Regions from separate parts of the Homo sapiens genome. Here region 1 is linked to region 2. Evidence: promoter capture Hi-C in 16 types of primary human blood cells and fetal thymus (Javierre and others, 2016). All regions are on one chromosome and are shown on one strand. The core of a region is centred on a gene start or on the middle of the fragment in contact, and the rest is flanking DNA. Distances in the headings are between cores, read along the strand shown.

What was found. The method cuts DNA at HindIII sites, captures the fragments that hold promoters and counts their contacts. A CHiCAGO score of 5 or more calls a contact.
Region 1: a fragment that was not itself captured here is called in contact with the fragment with the promoter of SAP130 in region 2 in 1 of 17 cell types (neutrophils); the score reaches 5.2 in neutrophils.

What each region holds. Positions count from the first base shown.
Region 1 is chr2:127,687,789-127,691,436 of GRCh38, reverse strand. No RefSeq gene overlaps it. Among named protein-coding and RNA genes, the nearest start is that of SFT2D3, 12 kb to the left of the region's middle. The HindIII fragment of the contact is 6,533 bases long and covers 1-3,648 here.
Region 2 is chr2:128,026,242-128,030,171 of GRCh38, reverse strand. It overlaps SAP130 (Sin3A associated protein 130), which reads left to right and starts at 2,113. Exons shown (of 21, transcript NM_001330301.2): 1 at 2,113-2,232; 2 at 3,874-3,930. The coding sequence starts at 3,880. RefSeq lists silencers at 1,426-1,575, 1,826-2,345, 2,446-2,785, 2,846-3,135. The HindIII fragment of the contact is 20,582 bases long and covers 1-3,930 here.

The DNA.
Region 1 (3,648 bases), core at 389-2,888, 340 kb after region 2:
TTGTGACCAAAATGCTGATAGTAATATGGATAGTGAAGGCCAGGGTGAGGAGGTCTCAGATGGAAATAAGGAACTTAATGGGAACTGGAGCAAAGATAACCTTTGTTACATATTCGCAACAGAACCTGGTGGTGTTGTGCCCCTGCCCTAGGGATCTGTGGCACTCTGAACTTGAGAGTGATGATTTAGGGTATCTGGTGGAAGAAATTTTTAAGCTGCAAAGTGTTTACGGATTGGCCTGGCTGCTTCTAACAACCTACGCTCATATGTGTGAGCAAAGAAATGACCTGAACCTGGAACTTATATTTAAAAGGGAAGCAGAGTGTAAAAGTTTGGAAAATTTGTAGCCTGGCCATGTGGTAGAAAAGAAAAGCTAATTTTCGGGGGAGGAATTCAAGCAGGCTGCAGAAATTTGCATAAGTAAAGAGGAGCCCAAGTGCTAATAGCCAAGACAATGGGGAAAAGGTCTAGAAGGCATTTCAGAGACCTTCGTGGCAGCCCCTCCCAGCACAGGCCTGGATGCTTCAGAGGACTGAATGGTTTTCTAGGTCAGGCCCAGGGCCCTGCTGCCCTGCACAGCCTTGAGACTCTACTCCCTGCATCCCAGCTGCTCCAGCTCCAGCTGGCTGAAAGGGGCCCTGGCCACTGTTTCAGAGGGTGCAAGCCATTAAACTTGGCAACTTTCATGTGGTGTTAAGCCTGCAGGTGCACAGAATGCAAGAGTTTAGGCTTGGGAGCCTCTGCCTAAATTTCAGAGGATGTATGGAAATGCCTGGATGTTCAGGCAGAAACCTGCTGCAGGGGCAAAGCCCTCATACAGAACCTCTACTAAGGCAGTGTGGAAATGTGGGGTTGGAGCCCCCACACAGACTCCCCACTGGGGGACTACCTAGTGGAGCTGTGAGATGAGGACCTCTGTCTTCCAGACCTCAGAATGGTAGATCCACTGGCTGCTTGCATCCTGCACCTGGAAAAGCCACAGGCACTCAAGACCATCCCTTGAGAGCAGCCATGTGGGCTGAACCCTGCAAAGCCACAGGGGGAGAGCTTCCCAAGGCCTTGGGAGCCCAGCTCTCACACTAGTGTCCCCTGGATGTGGGGCATGGTGTCAAATGAGATTATTTTGGACCTTTAAGATTGAACGACTACCCTGCTGGGTTTTGAACTTGCATGGGGCCTGAAGCCCCTTTCTTTTGGCTGATTTCTCCCTTTTGGAATGGGAGTATTTAACCAATGACTGTACCCCCATTGGAAGTAACTAACTTGTTTTTGATTTTACAGGCTCATAGGTGGAAGGAACTTGCCTTGTCTCAGATGAGATTTTGGACTTTTGAGTTAATGCTGGAATAAGTTAACACTTTGTGAGACTGCATGATTATATTTTGAAATATCAGAAGGACATGAGATTTGGGAGGGGCCGGCGGCAAAATGATATGGTTTGTGTCCCCACCCAAATCTCGTGTTAAATTATAATTCCCAGTGTTAGAGGTGGGGCCTGGTGGGAGGTGACTGGATCATGGGGGCAGTTTCCAGTGGTTTAGCACCATCCTCCTTAGTCATAATAGTGAGTTCTCATAAAATCTGGTCATTTACAAGTCTGGGCCAGGCACAGTGACTCACACCTGTAATCCCAGCACTTTGGGGGGCTAAGGGGGGGCAGATCACCTGAGGCCAGGAGTTCAAGACCAGCCTGGCCAACATGGTGAAACCCTGTCTTTACTAAAAACACAAAAATTAGTTGAGTATGGTGGTGGGTGCCTGTAATCCCAGCTACTTGGAAGGCTGAGGCAGGAGAATTACTTGAACCTGGGAGGCAGAGGTTGCAGTGAGCAGAGATTGCACCACTGCACTCCAGCCTAGGCCAGAGTGAGACTCCAGCTCAAAAAAAAAAAAAAAAGTAGCACCTCCCTGCTCCTTCTCTTTTCCTTCTGCTCTGGCCATGTAAGATGTGCCTGTTTCTCCTTCACCTTCTGCCATGAGTATAAGTTTCCTAAGGCCTCCCCAGAAGCCAAGCAGATGCTGCCACACTTCCTGTACAGCCTGCAGAACTGTGAGCCAATTAAATCTCCTTTCTTTATAAATTACCCAGTCTCAGGTATTTCTTTATAGCAATGTAAAAATGGACTAATACACATAAGAATAATGGAGAGAAGTGAGAGAAAGGGACATAAAAATTATTAGAAGGCACAATGGCTGAAAATTTCCCCAAATTATTTGCTTATTTATTTAAAATTTATTAATATTATCATGTTTATAGAAAGAGTCTTGCTCTGTCACCCAGCCTGGAAGGCAGTGGCACAAGCATAGCTCACTCTAACTTTGACTCCCTGGGCTCAAGCATTCTTCCTGCCTCAACCTCCCAAGTAGCTAGGACTACAGGCATGCACCCCAATGCTCAGCTAATTTTCAAGTTTTTTGTAAAGACAGGGTCTTGCTGTATTTCCTAGGCTGGTCTTGAACTCCTAGCCTCAAATGATCATCCCACTTCAGCCTCCTAAAGTCCTGAGCTTACTCATCACCTAAAGGCAAGAGCCACTGTGCCTGACCAATTTCCCCAACTTTGATGAAAAACATTATTCTAAACATCTGAGAAACAATGAATTTCAAGTAGGATGAACACAAAGGCATTCACACTCAGACATATTATAGTCAAATTTTGAAAGCCAAAGATAAAGATAAAATCTTAAATGCAGCAAAAGGAATACAATTCATTGTGTACCAGTAGTACAATAATATTGACAAATGATGTCTCATCAGAAGCAATGGGGGCTAGAAAGCCGTGGTATGACATGTTCAAAGTGCTTAACAGTAAAAACAAAACAACAACAAAAAACCTGTTAACCAATAATTCCATACCCAACAAAACTATCTTTCAACAATAATGGCAAAATAAAAAGCACTCCAAAATAAATAAAATCTGACTGAATTTATTGCTACCAGTCCTGAGTAACAAGAAATATTTAAGGTTTTTCAGATAGAAAGCAAGTGACACCAGAAACTAATTTGAATCCACATGAAAAACAAAAGTGTTGGTAAAAGTAGATAATTACAATATAAAGTATAATTGCATATTTCTTCTTCTCCTCTTAACTGATCTAAAAAGTAATTGCATAAGAAAATATGCATGTAACTTTTTATGGGCTATGCACATATAGGAATGTAATATGTGTCAACATTTTGTCAAAATGTTATTTAACAGTAACAGCACAAAGGAGATGGATGAAAAATTACAGCCAACATCTCTTATGAATATACACAAAAATCCTCAACTAATTACTAGCAGCCTAATCCAGCAACATATACAAAGGATTATATACCACATTGAAGTGGGATTTATCCCAGGAATGCAAGGTTGGTATAATATATTAACATCAATCACTGTAATACACTACATTAATACACTGAAGGACAAAACTCATATGGACATTTCAACAGACATAGAAAAAGCATTTGACAAAATTCACCACTATTTTTTTTTTTTTTGAGATGGAGTCTCACTCTGTCATCCAGGCTGGAGTGCAGTGGCACGATCTTGGCTCACTGCAACCTCTGCCTCCCAGGTTCAAGCGATCATCATGCTTTAGCCTCCCGAGTAGCTGGGACTACAAGCATGCGCCACCATGCCCAGCTAATTTTTGTATTTTTAGT
Region 2 (3,930 bases), core at 864-3,363:
CGGAGAGGTCACCTATGCATAGGTAACATTTTCAAAGATATTTGAGGCTGGGTGTAGTGGCTCATGCCTATAATGCCAGCACATTGGGAGGCTGAGGTGGGCAGATCGCTTAAGCCCAGGAGTTCAAGACCAGCCTGGGCATATGGTGGAACCCTGTCTCTATTCAAAAAAAAAAAAATATATATATACACACACACACACACACACACACACACACGTATATATACATATATATACATATATACATATATATACATACAACTCCATCTCAAAAATATATATTATATATATAAAATATATGTATTCATATATAAATATATATTTTTGAGACAGAGTTTCGCTCTTGTTGCCCAGGCTGGAGTGCAATGGCTTGATCTGGGCTCACAGCAACTTCTGCCTCCCGGGTTCAAGCAATTTTCCTGCCTTAGCCTCCTGAGTAGCTGGGATTACAGGAATTTGCCACCATTCCCGGCTAATTTTGTATCTTTAGTAGAGATGGGGTCTTTCCCATGTTGGTCAGGCTGGTCTCGAACTCCTGACCTCAGGTGATTCGCCTGCCTCGGCCTCCCAAAGTGCTGGGATTACAGGCATGAGCCACGTGCCTGGCATATATATATGTTTAGTGGGGTGTGGTGGCATGCGCCTGCAGTCCTGGCTACTCAGGAGGCTGAGGCAATAAGTTAGTTGAGACAAGGAAGTCGAGGCTGCAATGAGCTGTGATCACGCCACTGGACTTCAGCTTGGGCTGAACTGAGAACCTGTCTCAAAAAAACAAAAAACAAAAAGGATGACATTTGAAACTGTGGAAATACATTAAACCATTTAGGAAGGCAGTATAGCATTAGCGTGTTGGAGCCCTGAAGAATGCTGTATTTATGAGAAAGAGGAGGTATAATGGAGCTTGACATAGGAGTAGAAGCAGGAGACAGCCTGGTTCTAGAGGCCAAGGGAAGACATGAGGAGGAATTACTACTGGTCAGTAAGCTAAACAAGATGAGATCTAAGTGAGGACCGATGGGTTTGAAGTTGAGTAGGTGTTGGCAACTTTTGGGGAGCAGTCTGAGAAGAGTGGCAACTCCAAAAGGGATAAGGACTGCCTAGGCAGAGAGGAGGCTGAAGTCTATCACAGGAGTCACTCTTTAGAAGTTTGAGAATGAAGGCATGAAGGTGGAAAAGGAAAGTGGCTTGAAGAGGAGGAGTATCTGAGACTCATCCCTGGGCTATAGCCAGGAGCTACTCTCTTCTAACCAAGCAGTTGTCTTACACAGCTGTGCATGATAGGAAGAGGGGGGTTTGAGCCCCATTTATTTCCTAACTAATCACAAAACTCCAGGCCTAAATTACCATCTGGTAAGGGAAGAGGGAGACTTAATCTCTTATCAGACACAAATGTGGCCTCAAAAGATATGGCTAAGTCTTCTACAGGTGCATAAACTCCAACCCTGAACCCCAAGCAAAATGACAAAATAAAACTGCCCCCTTCAGCTCCTTTATAATCCGGAAAGCGCGCGCAGGTGCGCCCCGGCCGCCCAGAGCCCTGCGCCCTGCCGGCCTGCTTTCACAGAGCCGCGCCCGCGCTGCGCCTGGCGGCTCCCGCCGCGCGTAGGCTGTGCCGACCGCGGTTCCCGGTGGGGACACCGAGTCCCACTCGCGGCATAGGGAGGCGGGCACCGTCACGACACTGGCCCGGCCCGCGGATCCCTTGGCCGCCGCAGTTGGCCTCCATTACCCTTTCCCGCGCCGCGCCTCCCCGCGGGGAAAATGAAACCCAGTGCCCTCAGGTTAAGGCATAGGGTGGGATCCACTGTCTTCTCACTTAGCCAAGAGAAAAGGCAGAACCGACTTCAGACAGCAAAGGGGTGTGTTGCCCTGGCCGGGTCGCCTGCGGCCCCGCCCCGGCGCTCTCCACCTCCTTCGCGGCCCGCCCTCCTGACTCCGGCGACTACATTTCCCACAGGACGCCGCGGCTCAGAGGGGCGGGCCCGTCCGCTCTCCCGCTCACGACCACCGGCGACTGGCTGACTCGGCAGGGGGCGGGGCCTGCGCCAGCCAATAGACGGGAGGCTCGTTACGGCGGCGGAAGCAGCGGCGCTGGAGTGAGGGGTGGGGGGCAGAGTGCTAGCTCCCCGGCGGTGGCTGCGGGTCCGGAGCCTGGGGACGTCGGCCCCACAGACGGAGAGCGCGCGGGAGCGAGCTCAAGGCGGCGCGGCGGCCACTGGGCGCAGCACCCAGGTAATGGCGGGACGGGCGCCCGGGAGGGAAGGGGAGGAGACGAGGGGGCGGGGCGGCTGAGCCGGGCTGCAGCGTCCGTCCCGTTGCGCGTCCCCGGGGAAGGGCAGAGGATCCTCGTCTCCTGCGGCTCGGACCGCGGCTCTTTCGCGAGCTGGTCACGGCGGTTGGGCCGGCGACAGGGGCTGGGTGTCCTGTGGCGAGGAAGGGAGAGGCACCGGGAGGGGTGGGCTGACCCGGGCGTGGGGGCGTGGCGGACGTGGGCCTTGGCGGGGAAGCAGAGCGGCCGGGGGAGCGCGGGCGGGCGGGCGGGCGGGCGGCCGGCCCAGGGAGTTTGGCTCCTGGAGCAGTTTAAAGTGACTCTCCACATCCGGGCCCTGCGCCCGCCGCTTTCAGACCCTGGCTGAGGCGGGGCCTCCCCGCTCCCCGCCCCCTTCGCCGGGGGCGCCTGTCTTCCTCTGCCATTGGCTCAGCCTCGAGGGGTTTGGGCTGCCCCGGCCAGGCTCGCGCCTGATTGGCTGGCAGTCGGCGGGAGGGTGGGGCGGGCTCTGAACGTGCAGGTCGCTGTGGATTGGTCCTGGGCCTCCACTGACGCGTCGGGCGTGGGGCCAATGGGCGGGCGGGGGAGGCAGGGGCAGGTTCGGGGGAAGAGGACTGCGAGCACAGCGGCGGCCGGGTGGCGGGGGTGAGTGGGGCCAGCGGGGCTGGACAGCAGCGGGCCCCGGGCGCCGCCGCCGCGATCCCTCCCCGCGCCCGCCGAGCACATCGCCGCCGCCGAGATGGGCCCTCCGCGGCACCCCCAGGCCGGCGAGATAGAAGCGGGCGGTGCGGGCGGCGGGCGGCGGCTACAGGTAAAGAGGCACAGTGCTCGTCTTGTGGTCGGGTCCCCAGATCGCCCGTCCGCACCCCCACCCCGGAGACGGGGGTCTCACACTCCGAGGTGTCTGGAAACCGGCGTCCTCCGGTCTCAGCGGGGGCTTCGCGGTGGGGTGGGGTTGCGGGCGAATCGGGAGATCGCTTGGCTCCTGAGGGAAAAGTGGGGGGCGATTTTAGGGAAGATGGAGAAGGTGTAGGGTCCTCTGGCTCTGTGAGGGGATCTGTGGAAGAGAAGGAAAAGGAAATCCGTAAATGGAGGCCTTTGCCGAAAAGCATTGGAGAATTCCTTTTGCATCGGGTCTGGATGTAAGATATCGGATCTTTTCTTAGGGCTGGATATCTTCCTCCGAATGTTCCTATGACATACTAATCACAGTTCTGTTCACCTTGGTGTGAGATTTGAGTGTTTCAAAGAGACATGCCATTTTCCATAAAACTTTACACAGAGAAATACACATGCATTGTGGTAATACCTGTCATGTGACTCTTGTACAGGATTCAATGGTGATTTTTTTAGCATAGCAATCCACAAGTATTTATGGAGGGTCATAGTACCCGCCAGCTCCGTATAAACAATATTTGTAGAAAACTTAGGTAGTTTAGATAATGTCTGCATTTATATTGATCCCAAGTTATTGTTTTTAAATAAATGATGCAGCATTTGCTTTTCCAAGGGACTATCTCATAGGTACTAAAGATGCTTTAATTTCTCAGTATTGATTCAGATCTCAGAATCTAGTAATAACCATATAACTGTATGTACTACAGGTGGAAATGAGTTCTCAACAGTTTCCTCGGTTAGGAGCCCCTTCTACCGGGCTGAGC